Regions from separate parts of the Homo sapiens genome. Here all the other regions are linked to region 2. Evidence: promoter capture Hi-C in 16 types of primary human blood cells and fetal thymus (Javierre and others, 2016). All regions are on one chromosome and are shown on one strand. Each heading gives the region's core, a stretch centred on a gene start or on the middle of the fragment in contact. The rest is flanking DNA. Distances are from core to core; before and after follow the strand shown.

Region 1 (2,700 bases), core at 9-2,508, 1.4 Mb before region 2:
GCTAAAATTCCTGAAATCTGTCTAAAAGTTTCCTTTCCTCTAGCAAGTTCTGAAAAGAACCTTAAATGTTTTCTACTTTTCTATACTATTTTATCCACCCAAATTCCAAATTTCCAGTATATAGATTACCATTTGACTTGCATCTGCTCTTAAAATCGGGCACAGGATCAGATTGTCTATAAAATGCAGAAATTGTACCAGATGGTTTATACAGTTTCTTCCCACTTTGAATTTATATAGTTCTAAAATAAATAAATAAATAATACCATCTGGCTTATCAAGCACACCTAGTGCCCTTCAGTTCTCCTTCACTACCCTCCTTTTTCTAGCAAGTTGAAGCACATACAATTTGCCAATATTTGACCATTTTAAACTTAAACAGCCATCATTTATCCTAACATTTTTCTCCTACTTATCCTTTATACTGGAACCTTTTCATGTAACAGAACCCAAACTAACCTATTTCTTTCTTGAAAATGCCACTGAAATCTCTCAATTCCCTGTCCTAACTTAGAAAGATACTATGAAAAGAAAGGAGCCGATTCCTGAAGACCAGGCATATGTTTTTTAAAAGTTGTACCTACAGTTATAAGTGAGGCAGAGCTATTAAATGAAGTTAATGTTTATAAGTTTTCCATATAAGAATTAACAGTGACTACTTAAATAGCACAAATTGTTAAGTTCAAAGAGTACTCCCCTAAGCAAAACTAATGGGTACCTTGCTTTTTAAACCTAGAATATACTGTGAGAATTTTCTATGTTATATATATATATATATCACCAAGTTAAAAACCCAAGCTTCCAAATAATTTCTAGAGTATGATACCATTTTTAAAAGGTTGTATAACTTATAATACCATTATAAAAAGCTATACTGACTACTTCCTGTAAAATAACTGCCAATTTCAAGGAGTTTATCTCATCGCCCTGTTTCCTTCACAGTATTATAATCTGTAATCGCCTTACCCCTGCTTGAATGTAAGCTCGCTGTCTGACAGCAGGGAAGTTTTGACTTTTGGAGAGAACTTTTGTCTTTTCACTGCTATACTGCCAATCCCTAGAAAGTATCTCTAGCACATAGAAACTCAATAAATTTGTGGAATATGCATAGGGAAAAGACCAGTAGGCAATGTTAACCTTGACAGTGTTGGTGATTTTTGTGATTTTTTTTTTAAGATACCTTTTTCCGTTTACCATGTTTTCTGTTTAGAGCATACATTAATTTTATATTTAAAGCAAAAGTTATTTCAAAATAATCATTTGAATTAACATTTTCCATTTTGTTAAAATGCTTTTAATCTTAATTTTAAAAGATCTTAAAGATCTTCTTCAATTACATCAAATTTCAGGTCATCAAGAACTAGCAACAACATTAATTTCAAAGCAATTATACAAAAATAAATCATTAAAATATATGTGTTATGATCTAAGTATAAAGTCTTATCTAAATTGTGAAAAAATACTGAACATTAAAGCTACATCAAGCTATGCTGTGTAGGGAATTTCTGAATATGAGTCTTCTTAACTCCTGATCTCAGTACTGACTTCAAACCTCATCCAAAGACTCAGTTTACTGACTGGAGCTTTGCCACTCTCTGGACCCAGCAACTCTCATGTTCTCAGAACCACCCAGAAAGAAGGCAGAAGCTCTGCTCACCCTCCATCATTTGTTATGCTATAGGAGAACACAGAAAAAACAAACAGGCAGATGAAGCTTGTAGGGATTTCTTAGTGTAAGGTTAAATGTAAGCTTATAGCATCAATACATTTTTTACTATTAACTGTTTTATTATTTAACTAACTTAGCTTCTTAGTATGTGCTAAAGAGACCAGTGCTTTAGGCTTACTCTTCACCTGAACCATTTATATTTGCTGACCTTGTGATCCCAGACTGGCCACTCCACCCAAGGCCAGTTATCCTAAAAGTACAGACAGCACTGGTCACTGATGGAGCTAGGGGTGTACATTTAATAAGAAGACTTTGTAATGAGATCACCATATTCACTACCAACCAGTACTGGGAAAACATCATGGCTCATGGTGGAAACACAACAGAAAGTTCTTGTTAAGACTGTAATGTATTTTTTTAAAGAGGCTCACTCATCAATTTGACATTGATTCTGCAATATGTAATACAATCTAATTCAAGGTATGTTCATAATGCATGATAATCTTTTTCTTAACTCAAAGAAATAAAGAGAATTATTGTCAATTAATTAGGATTTATGGCTATCTCTTGTTTCCCAACCTTTTCATAGTCATTAATTTTTAATAACATTACATAAAACTATACGGAATGCTTTTCTTAAGTTTTTGTCTGAACCATTTCATGCAAAAGGGTTGGTTATAATTTTATTGCATTTGGAGAATATGTTTCAGCCTAACCCAAAATAAAAACAATGCAGTAAATACAAAATTCACTTTAGCAGGTAAGGCACCTGAAAGAGATGAGAAATCATCCTCCTAAGGAGCTGACACCGAGGTGTAAGGAGAGGCCTTAAACTGCTGATCAAGAGAAGCACACCCTGTGTATTCAAATGCCTGATGCAGAAAACAAACAGTATTTTCACGTATCACTCTCAAATTAAAAAATACAAAAACAGACATTCAGAAGTGCCAGCTTAATCTGTGATGGAGCAGCTATTCACATGGGCAGCTCCAAGCAGCAACACTCCAGAAAAACAGCAGGGATTTAACAAT
Region 2 (2,700 bases), core at 53-2,552:
AGAAAAAGGAGAAAGAAATGGGATAAAGAAAATTCTTTTTCTTTCTTGAGACAAGGTTCACTGTGTCACCCAGGCTAGAGTGTAGTGGCACAATCACGGCTCACTGCAGCCTCAACCTCCCAGGCTCAGGTGATTCTCCCACCTTAGCCTCCCAAGTAGCTGGGACTACAGGCACCTGTGACCACGCCTGGCTAATGTTTGTACTTTTTGTAGAGATGGGGTTTCACCATGTTGGCCAGGCTGGTCTCGAACTCCTGGCCTCAAGCCATCCTCCCGCCTTGGCCTCCCAAAGTGCTGGGATTACAGGCATGAGCCATCGCGCCCGGCCAGAAAATTACATCATTAGGCTTGTACATGGAGGAGTTAGTAATGCCTGAAATTTTTCCTCTTTGTAGAATTCAGGGTCAATCCTGTTGATCCTGTGTTTTTTTAAGGACCAAATCACCATCGTCTCCTGAGGATAACTCGACAGACACAATTAATTCATTAATGTAGATATTATCTTTCTTTTGATGGTCACAGGAGAAGTGCCTTGAATTGAAGCTTTATCTCTTCCATTGTCACCATCACTAGGCAGGTGAGGCTGACAGGACCGCGTGGCTTAAGGCAACGCCTCGGGAGGGAGCAAAAATGCATCCACTGTGGAGATGAGGTTTCGGTTGCCTCCATTCTTTAAATAGCGCAAACCCTCACAATGTCAAAAGAATCATATTTGAATTCGAACTGCAAGTAAGGAAATCGAAGTATACTAGAATTGATTTCCAGCCTGAAGGCGGATGCTGAATTCAGACCAGCAGTGACACTCCAGGATTTCCACGGTAGTTCATTAAAGGAGGAGAATCTGGGACTAAACAGACAGAGTCTACACCCGCTTATCCTGCACCAAAAAACGCCGAGATGTTCATCGGCATCGCGTTAGTCACATTAGCAGCAGCAATCGCATTATCAAAAACTGCAACACGCATGTAAATAATAGCTACTTTTCCACCACGTGTCGTCGGCCGGCAGTGGATGCCCCCTGTAGGATCCCTATAAGATGCCTTACAGTTCCCCACGGACATCTGCCCAGGCGACTGGGAGTCCCAGGCCCCACCCCACCCTCCAAACCCCTTCTTTGGCGTTCAATACCCCGCGCTCACCGCGGTCTCTTGCTGCCCCCTGCCAGGCCCCTAGCGTCGGGCTGCGAAGGGCTGAAGTACCGCCACGAGGGGGCGCAGGACCAACGACATCACCTCTGCGCGCGACCCGAGGCCGGAAGTTAGTCTTTTCCACTTCCGCTCCTCCTAGCCGCTCCGGACCCCAGAGGCGGAAGTAAAAGCGAACTACAGTGGATGGGTGCAGTTCAGGGTGAGATTGGGAAGGTGGTGAGGCTGTGCTTTCCTTTCTTTTTGTTAAGAAGTGGGTGTGGGTGACTGCTGTACAGTGCAGCCCTTTGCAGATTTGTCTTTGGAGGAGGAAGAGGGATGGAAAGAGCCTTCGGTGTGGAATTACCTTGGTTTTGAGTTAAGAAAGACCCACCTGGGTTCGAACCCTAATGCTTCAGCTAGCGAAGGCAGGCTAGTATGGGAGCTCGGCGCTGTTTCAGATTTTGTAATTTTAAGGCTTATGCCTACCTTTTAAATTGTTGTGGGGAGTAAAGCGAGACAATATATATGAAGCACTTAGCTTTGGTACAAAACGTATTCGTGATTCCGCTACCTTTTCCCATCATATGTAGGCATGTACTTGCCGTTTTCTTTTCTGTATGTCTGAGAAATGTTGTTTGCAAGAGGTAATGCATCTCACGAGAACATAATGCAACGAGAACGTTAGCTGGGATCGATCTCTTATTTTGTATTAGGAAGGCCTGAAATATTTTGCCTTTTTTTTGTGTGTGTGTGTCATTTCCAGAGATAGCTGTTCTCCAGCCTTTCTGGAGGGATGCAGAGCCTTTCCTTAGGACAAACAAGGTGAGAAATGCATGTAAAGATCTCCAAACTTAGCTTGCTGTATCAAAAGAAGACCAGCTGGAATGTGGTATTTTAGGGCCAGTGATTAGTTATTTCCATTAACAGCCTTTTTAACAGGCCAGTTGTGGGGCAGAGGCGAACGTAAATCTTTTTTTAGACCCCTCATACTACAAGCATAGAAATTTTCAGTGTTTGTTAAGTTTGAACATTAGCCCTTTGGATAATGGTTTTGGTTAATTAAAAAGTCAATTTGAGAAATAGATCGAAGTCAATTTTTGAATAGGTACCATTTTTGAAATTTGTACGTGAGGAAAGTTGCTAACTTTCTTGTATTAGGCTATTTAGATGTTCATTTACCCTACTAGATATTATGAGTATTTTGAATGGAGATCCGTTGCTAAGAGTAAAGCATCATGGAGAATTTTGAAGTGTGACTTTTTTGGTACTAGAAACCGAAAAATAGATAAAGATAATTTGTATTTTCCATTGTTTTTCACACCAAAGGCCAGTTTTACTTGTTTAAATTTTTTCATCTGACTGCAAAGTAACACATATTCATTAAATAAAGTCCCAGTATTTCAGAAGTAGTACATAGCCTCTAATAATCTTTCAGAAATAAGTGTCATTCCACTTTCCCCCTCTGTATATATTAACGTCCCCCTCCCCGCCTTTAATATACATGGCATTATCCATACTGTTAAGCAGTTTGTCATGTAGAATATCTGACATCTTTTGATTGCAGTAGATCGGC
Region 3 (2,700 bases), core at 177-2,676, 1.7 Mb after region 2:
TTTTGTTTTGCTTTTCCATTAAATAGCCTCTAAGCTTTGAAGCAACCAAGAGAGAATCGGAGTAAAAAAATTATAGGGTTAAAGAAAGAAAAAATAAACAGATCAATAAAATGAAGAAATAATAAAGTGGAGAAAAGGAAGGATGGGGAGGTGGTTTAGAAAACAAAAAGGGTTCCAAGCAGCGGGGCTGTTAAAAGGACCAGAATCTAAGTCAGGAGGTTGGGGGTGGGGGTGGGGGTGGGGCAGGAGTCTGAATTCTTTTTCTCCTATACTGATGAGCGATAATTAACTATGGCCTGGACTGTCTTTCCATCTAAAAAACTAACTGCCCGAGGAGTAAAAACTGACACCAATCCTTCTCCACGGGGTGGGAGAGATAATAAATGGAAATCTTCCAACAAAAATGCTCTTTATCTCTCTGCTCTATTTTAAGAGCAAGATTTTTAGGGCATAATTTTCAACAAGTTTTGGCTGAGGCTGAACACAGGGTTCAAAGATAATTTAGGACAGTCAAAGAAGAGGCCAATTACTTTCTAACAGAAATGGCCTAAACACCACGATTACATTACTGGGAAATAAACCAAATGACTGCTAGAAATACCTGTTCGCAAAGCAGCACTGCATGATCTTCCATGAAATGCCCTGCATCAACCCAAAGTAGCAGGGAGACTATCAAGGGGGCGAAAGTAACCTGCCTGTCCTTTCCTGCTGGGACACATCCTACCTGGGACAATGTCTCCTTGCCTTCTTTCTCCTGGGCCCAACCTCAGGACTTGCCCTTAGCTCTAGGAACCAAGAGGAGGAGGAGGGGGAATCAGTGGAACAGACACCCTTCTCCACCCTTCTCACTTTCCACCTTAAGGTGCCAGGAGATGAGGGACCCCGCAGCTCAGGGCGGACGCCCGGTGAGGGCGCAGAATCGGGGAGGATGGATGCAGCGCGTGGCGCAGACTGCATCTTGACCCTCAACTCCGCCGCCGCTACCTTCTTTCGCGCTCCTCCCCGACCCGCTCACCTCCGCGCCCCCCGCGCCCTCCACGCCGGGCAGGGGCGAGCCTTGCAGCTCCCCGGGAGCGGCGCCGACTCCCCAAGGGCCCACCCGGGGGCCAGGGCCTACGGACTGCACCTCCGACTGGCGGTTGCAGGGTGGCTGCCGCGGCGGTCGCACTCCAGCTGCTTCCCCGCCTACCCAAGCTGGATCGCGAACAGCCAGGGGAGAAGGAAGGAGGGAGGCGCGCGGAGGCCGGCTTGGCAGCGACGCGCCGCTAGGGGCTGCGTGCCCGGACAGCTCGTGGCGCCGAGGGCCCGAGGAACGCTGACTGGAGTCGGGAAGAGCCGTGGAGCGCGGGGAGGAGTCGGGGAGCTCGGAGGGGGCGGGGGTGTGTGAAGGGAGCCGGGCTGTGTGGAGGGAGCTGGGAAGGGCCCAGAGCACCGAGGGGGAGCCAGCAGTGAGTGCACTGGGGAGCTCCACACACGCGGCTCCGCAGCTTTGCGCGCCCTTCTACCGCGAGCGGCTGAGTATCCGCCTGGCTCCCCTGCGGGGTTCCTCCGTGGTCTTCCGGAGATTCTTTCTGAAGCAGCTTTAGAATAGTCAAGCCTATTTTTCTACTCCATTTCTTTTTGTAATGTGGGGTCACCTTTCCGCTCTAGAAATTGCTTTTCTTACGCGATTCCCACCCCAACTCTCGCCAAGGGCCCTGGTTCTCATCTCCCCAGTCTTAGCTTCTGACAAGCCTCCAAGAAACTGCGCTTTTTTCTTTTGTAAGTGTTCTTTTGCCTCATGTTTACCCTATCCCAAACGTCTTTTGACTAGACTGTGTCCTTGGAATAAAATGTTCGGAAATGCCCTTTCATGAAAACTCCCTCGGATAGGAGGACCCTCACAGACCCTGGACTGCAGAGATTATTCTGTTGACTTTGACCTTCACTCTAGCTGGTGCCGCGCGAGCTTTGGTGTGGGGGAAAGGAAGGTTAGGCCGTGAGTCAGGAGACCTGTGTTCCTGCGAAAGCCATTTACCTTCTGGGGCCGCAATGGCTTTGAATGTTTCAGGGGATCCCCTGAGAGCACCTTTGGCTCTGGGTTTCTGTAAATTTTCTCCCTGCGGATTACCAAGTAAAAGTACCTTTTATCTTTTGTGTAGAAGGTGTCAGTAGAAGAAGCAAGAGATCTTTATTCCCAAATATAAAATCAACTTACCAAAAATTCTCAAATTTGGGGAAATTTTTTTCATACATTAGTAAAGTACCATTTCAACAAATTAAGTTTAAAAATTATCCCTCTAGGTGGTTTATTAACCAGACCAAAAAAACCCAACAACAACAACAACGAGAGGGGGGTCTTAGATCGATCACTGGGGCACTGCACTTTCCCCTTTGTAGTCCATACACAGATTAACCTTTGTAAATGCTGCTTTGGAAATACATCCTTTGTTTGACTTGAAATGTAACCCCTCCCCTACCGCCAAATATTATTAAGGTTTAAAGTTTAGGCAGAAGCTAAGGTTTTAACGATGTGTCAGGGTGTGGAACCATCGACAGCTGGTAGAATACTTTCCATTTTGGTTACTGGAAACAAGTCATTAAATCTAATATCAATTTTAATAATTTCACTTCAACAAAACTGTCAAATAATGAGATTCGTGGAGTTTTTTCTAGTAGTTCCTCTGGAGAACTTGTGGAGAAAATTCATGAATCTTAGCA
Region 4 (2,700 bases), core at 76-2,575, 1.2 Mb before region 2:
TGGAATTAAGGCAGCTTTATGTTCCTGGCAAAAATACTAGGTTTATGTCTAATTTCTCCCCAAAGCAAACAGTAAGATAATGCAAGACGGTTGGAGGATCACATTTCTGAATAAAGGTCTGACCTTCAACTCCCTTCTAGAAAAGTTAACAAACCCTACAGTTTAACACCAACCAGAGTTAAAAAATGTATGTGGGTTCAATCAGTAACAAATAGTGTTTCCTACTAAGATGCTCAGAACCAAATTTTCAGGTCAGTTTTTAAAGTATACGGAATCAAAACCAGTAATTTTAGGTACTAATTTTACTCCCTCATTTCACCTTTTCTCCCCCTACCCTTATTTAGCCTTCCCCATGATTTCTTTACCTAAGGGTTTTAATATATGTGTGATCCTATATTACTTTCTAAATTACCTAAAAAACATTTTGGAACGAGAGGGTATAAAGAAATCATTAATATGTAAAATATCTATGAACAGTGGCATAAATACCTATGAATGCTGGCATATATTTTCTCCAAGAGTGACATCATCAACAATTTTTTTAAAATAATGTATTGAAAGGCACAGCTATCAATAATCTGACAAAAGCTTTAGGGGAAGAAGTGTGAAAGTGTAACCTGTTCAATGACATTTGAAATATTCATAGTGTCTCTAGTAGAGAAAACAGTCAAAAGTCACTTCTTTATTATTTGCTTACTTTCCCAACCAAATGTTCAGGCCCAGTTCTCCATCCCCCACACTCTTATATGAGAACCTGACTTTACGTTTTCACATATAATGGTATGTAGTTCTTGCATGAATCAAATAATCCATCTAATTCACCAGTCTCATAATCTAGTTTATGACATATCACCAGAGACTAAGGACTGTGTCTGTAAAACTGTGAAAGGTCCAAGTTGATGAAGGAAGTCAGGGAGACCCTAGGAAAAGGGTACTGGTGGGAAGCGGCGAGATGGGGGATGAGAGCCATAGGTATGAGGCCTCAGGAGCCAGCGCACGCTAGCAGCACAATAATCGGGGACCCCTGCTTTATGTGTTAAATAGTGTGGGTGCAACAAAAGTGAGCATACTTTCATAGGGTGGAGTAGACGTGACTCAGTAAATGGATACAAGAAAGTGACTCAGATAGAATGGTTACTAGACGAGGGTGTAGTCAGTTTTTAGACAACTCTAAAACCAGTATTGAATCAACACTGAGTGGGATGCAGAAGTCAAAAGTTCATAATCTGAGACTGCAATAATAAACACCTAGTAAAACTTTAGGACCTCACATACCATTGAATTCACAATTATCCTTGATTCATAACACACCATCATCTTTTTTATGCAAGTATCTCTTTTATTTTATTCATCCGTTTTATTTTCTAATGTATTTTGGAGGCATTATTGGCTTTTTAAATACAGTATAACTTGTATACAATGAACAAACTTAAGGGTAAGCCTTTATGAAATTTTAATATGTACTTATCTGTGCAACCGCTAGCCATATCAAGATATAAAATATTTCCATCACCCCTTCCCAGAAAATATCCACCCCCCAACATCAGTCTGACTTCTATGACAGATTACTTTTGCCTATTCTTAAACTATATAAGTAGAATTCTACAATATGTTTTCTGTTGTAACTGGCTTCTTTCACACAGTATGATGTGATATTCATTCATGTTGTTGCCTGTATCAGTACTTTAATAATTTTCATGAGAATTGCAGATCCAAAGAGTAGGTATATATTTAACTTCACAAAAACTGATAGTTTCTTGAAGTGGCTAAAACAATGTACATTCCCACAGACAGCATATGAGAGCTCCACTGACTCCACATCATCACCAACATTTGGCATTAACAGTCTTTAATTTTAGCCATTCTGGTAGGCATGTAGTATTATCTTGTTGTAATTTTACTTTGCATTTCCATTACGGTAAACATTTTGGAACACTTCTAATTGCACTTCATTAGACCCGCCCCTGTGACTATGAAAATCCCCACTGGTTTTCCTCCTCCCGGTAGGCCAAGTCTAATCCTTAAACCCAACCCCAAATCAACAAATGCCCCCAAAGCTTACATAGACAGGGATCTTTCCTCTCTGGAATTTTAGTTCATCCAGTCCTTGTCATCTGGTCTATTGATGACTTTGTGATTACTTAAAAATATGAGTTTTGCAATTTTTCAGATTTTGATCTCATGGTTGCAGTGGGTGAATAGGTGGCCTTTTGTGATCTCCTACATCACCCTGGAAGTGAGACTTCTTCGGTTTCTTCTAGAGTCAGTTTGGTAAGCTATATTTTTTAAGAATTTGCTCAATTAATCTCAGTTTTCAATTTATTCAGTTAAAGTTGGTTCATTTTTAAAGTTTCTAATATTGCTTATTTGTGCCACCTTTCTTTTTTATTTTTTGGTTAATCATTCCATGGATGTGTCAATTTTATTACTTTTTATCTAAACAGCTCTTGGACTTCACTGAGTCTCTCTTGTCATTTTGTTTTCCACTTTATAAATTCCTGCTCTTATCTTTATTTTTCTCATTCTTCTTATTTCAGTTTTATTCTGTTATTCTTCTTTCAATTTATTAAACTGGCATTAGGTTCATGATTTTCAGTCATTCCTCCTTTTTTAAAAAACTATACTTTAAGTTCTAGGGTACATGTGCACAACGTGCAGCTTTGTTACATATGTATACATGTGCCATGTTGGTGTGCTGCA
Region 5 (2,700 bases), core at 194-2,693, 1.3 Mb after region 2:
GAAGGATATCTGTAACACTCATGTGCATCCCAGGGTTTTATTTTAAGGAATTAAGTACCTTTATGTTTAATTTCCATTAACACTTTCGTTAACATGGATGACATTTAAAACAAGTGAAACAAAGACTAGGCAGCTTCCTAGGGACTCGCAGGGGTTATCTTTTGTGTCTATAGCATTCTCTTGCTCAGGGCAGTTACATGTTATTAGTGAAAGTTGTGACAGTAGGGGAGGCAGCTAACTCTTCAGGTTAAAAGGGGTTTTCTATGCCCAGTACTCAAAATCTAACAAACCCATTCCACGTGATACTGCTGTCACCCTATTACAACCTGTGACATGCATTTATTCGTCACTGTCCTAAACACTGTTGGTCAGTTGGTTTGTTGTTTGGTTTAAAGACAACAGCCCCTGAGCTCTATTAAATGGAACAAGTTCGAGAGACATTCCTAAATGTCCAGACAACTCCACAGCGCGCATTTCTCTCCAGCAGCGGGAAGATTCAGAGACCTCGAGACTGAACACCCAAATCTCGCTTTCCAGGACCCGAAGTACCGAACAATAGGTCCCAAGGTAACTGTCCCACTTCCCTTTAGGTTGGATACGTTAAACAATACCAGGGCACAGTCTAACGTTTCACCAATTTCCAAAGCTAAATTACTGACTAAACGCCCAATATCCAAGCCTGTGCGCAAAAAATAACAAGTGGCCCAAGCAGCCGCGCAGCCCCTTGCGCGGTGGGGGCCGAGGGGTCCCCTCGCCCGTCCCCCACGCGCGCGAAAGGGCGAGCACTAGTGGCGGAGGAGGGGAGAACCCATATTGTAGGCTTGAGAGAATCTACAAATGAACCCCCAGATCCTGAGGAAGAGGGGTCTCTTTCCTTTACGTCCTTGCCCTCCCCCGGGTCCCTAGCACTGTGCCCTCGATCCCCGCCTACAACGCACCCCACGCCAGCCCCGCTGGCAGCTGCATGGCTGGTGCCAGGAACGCGGCGGGGGCGCAGGCCGAGGGGAGCGGGCGCTGGGGGGGCCGGGGGCAGCGCGCTACTCACCAATGCGACTGAAACTCTCCGACAAAGTTCTCCGCAACTTCTTCATCTTGCCGATCTTCTCGGCCGGCTGCGGCTCAATGAGGTCACACATCTGGGCGACGCGGAGCCCCGACAACTTCCCCAAACTGGTCCAGGCACAGCTCAGACAACGGCGAGGGCGCGCGCCGCGGGGAAAGCGGCGCCTCCTCCTCCACCACCTCCTCGGCGGGCCGGGAAGCGACGCGCAGGTCTAGGGAGGCGAGCAGCAGGCAGGCGGAGGACGGCAGGCTCCGCTCCGGCCTGGGCCGCAGCTGGGCGGGCGGGGGCGGTTTACGTGGTGCCGGGGGCGGCCGCGCTCGCCGCCGCCGTGGTGGCCCCGCGCCGCGCCGCCGCCGCCCGGCTCATTTTCCCTCCTTTGTAACGGAGAGAAGCGCGGCCGGCAGGGGGAGTGGTGCGGCCGAAGGAGGAGGCGGGGCGGGCCGGGTACAAGGTGCGGGAGTCGCCTGGCGCCGAGTGCGCGGGGCGAGGGCGAGTGGGCCGGCGGGAGAAGTTCTCAGCCCAGAGTTGCGGGCGCAGCGCAGAAGGAGCCGCGGCGCGGAACCGCCAGCCTGACAGCTCCTGCTGCCCTCCTGCTGCCGCCGCCACGCCCCTCCCTCGACGAAGGCCCCTGGGCGCGGGATCCTAGCACGACCTCGGCTCCCCGCTCGCCTCCCGCGTCCTCCGCGGCCCTCTGTGTCTGGCTCGCGCCCCGGCGGCGCCCCCTCCCGGCCGCGCCCCTCCCGGCCGCCCCCGCGCTCCTCCCCCGCCCCGCCCGCGCGCGGGAGGATCACGAAGGGACCGGGGTGGGAGCGGGCAGCGTCTGGGGACAGCGTGTTGGGCTGTGGGGAGGTTACCGAAAGGAAACGGGCCGAGTCCAGTTGTTTGAGCGGTTTTCTCCTTCCACGAGCGTGTGTGAAAAAGCGCGGAGTTCGGTGGAGGGCAGCTGCCAGGACTGCCTCCTGGACTGGGTGCGGTAAGGCCTTAGGGATGCATTCAGATGTAGGGTGCCTTATTTTGGGCCGAGAAAGCTGTCAAGTGAAAGATCCAAGGGGAAAGGTGGGCCTGGATTTTTTTGTTGTTGTTTGCGGTGGGTTTTTTGTTTGTTTTGAGGTCAAGTGCAGAAGCAGCGGAAGCTTCAACTGTAACCCTCCAGAAGGCAGGGATCATGCTGTTTCCCTCATCCTTGTCTCTGATCTTGGTGACACATGTAGGTGATTTCTGATAGGAATACCCAGTTCTGCAGTAAATAGCAGACACAGCCCTTGGTCTTTTTCTATTAAATTCTTAGAATATATTTCTGAATTGGGAGATTTAAAGGCTAAACAGATTCCGACCTCCTTTTCCCCCACCTCAAAAACAGAACTTTAAAAAGGAGTGGGGGAGGTGTTTATAAAATCCCAGGACAAACAGTTCCAGCAGCGAACACACATCGTCTTCATTCTGAAAAAACCTGGTGCGGCGTGAGTTCCAAACGTCAGTCTCCCAGGGGAGAGAGAAGGAAGGTGGGGGAGGGCTTGATTGTGTTGATCTGAGGCCAGCAAACTCCTTATGAATAGAAACGTTAGTAATCTTGAGTCATTTGGCTGTGTAAGTAATAAGAGCTTGTGAGGGTGTGACAATGCTGTTTGGCTTGTAGG

What was found. The method cuts DNA at HindIII sites, captures the fragments that hold promoters and counts their contacts. A CHiCAGO score of 5 or more calls a contact.
Region 1: a fragment that was not itself captured here is called in contact with the fragment with the promoter of MTERF1 in region 2 in 2 of 17 cell types (total CD8 T cells and fetal thymus); the score reaches 5.8 in total CD8 T cells.
Region 3: the fragment with the promoter of STEAP2-AS1 here is called in contact with the fragment with the promoter of MTERF1 in region 2 in 1 of 17 cell types (monocytes); the score reaches 5.1 in monocytes.
Region 4: a fragment that was not itself captured here is called in contact with the fragment with the promoter of MTERF1 in region 2 in 1 of 17 cell types (fetal thymus); the score reaches 6.2 in fetal thymus.
Region 5: a contact is called between the fragment with the promoter of CDK14 here and the fragment with the promoter of MTERF1 in region 2, in 1 of 17 cell types (total B cells). The highest score is 5.2, in total B cells.

What each region holds. Positions count from the first base shown.
Region 1 is chr7:93,240,557-93,243,256 of GRCh38, reverse strand. The region is part of intron 2 of VPS50 (VPS50 subunit of EARP/GARPII complex); the gene reads right to left. Among named protein-coding and RNA genes, the nearest start is that of VPS50, 9.5 kb to the right of the region's middle. The HindIII fragment of the contact is 916 bases long and covers 801-1,716 here.
Region 2 is chr7:91,879,304-91,882,003 of GRCh38, reverse strand. MTERF1 (mitochondrial transcription termination factor 1) reads left to right here and starts at 1,302. Exons shown (of 3, transcript NM_006980.5): 1 at 1,302-1,347; 2 at 1,891-1,949. The coding sequence starts at 1,921. LOC112267986 (a long non-coding RNA gene) reads right to left here and starts at 1,202. Exons shown (of 2, transcript XR_002956514.2): 1 at 1,140-1,202. The HindIII fragment of the contact is 3,297 bases long and covers 546-2,700 here.
Region 3 is chr7:90,210,361-90,213,060 of GRCh38, reverse strand. STEAP2-AS1 (STEAP2 antisense RNA 1) reads left to right here and starts at 1,426. Exons shown (of 3, transcript NR_110029.2): 1 at 1,426-1,761. STEAP2 (STEAP2 metalloreductase) reads right to left here and starts at 1,321. Exons shown (of 6, transcript NM_001244944.2): 1 at 1,016-1,321. RefSeq lists a silencer at 1,159-1,218. The HindIII fragment of the contact is 5,296 bases long and covers 37-2,700 here.
Region 4 is chr7:93,114,366-93,117,065 of GRCh38, reverse strand. SAMD9 (sterile alpha motif domain containing 9) reads left to right here. Exons shown (of 3, transcript NM_017654.4): 2 at 2,171-2,271. Among named protein-coding and RNA genes, the nearest start is that of SAMD9, 2.3 kb to the left of the region's middle. The HindIII fragment of the contact is 1,469 bases long and covers 591-2,059 here.
Region 5 is chr7:90,595,064-90,597,763 of GRCh38, reverse strand. It overlaps CDK14 (cyclin dependent kinase 14), which reads right to left and starts at 1,443. Exons shown (of 15, transcript NM_001287135.2): 1 at 1,046-1,443. The coding sequence starts at 1,136. RefSeq lists silencers at 806-855, 916-1,115, 1,306-1,615, 1,636-1,835. The HindIII fragment of the contact is 4,165 bases long and covers 1-2,198 here.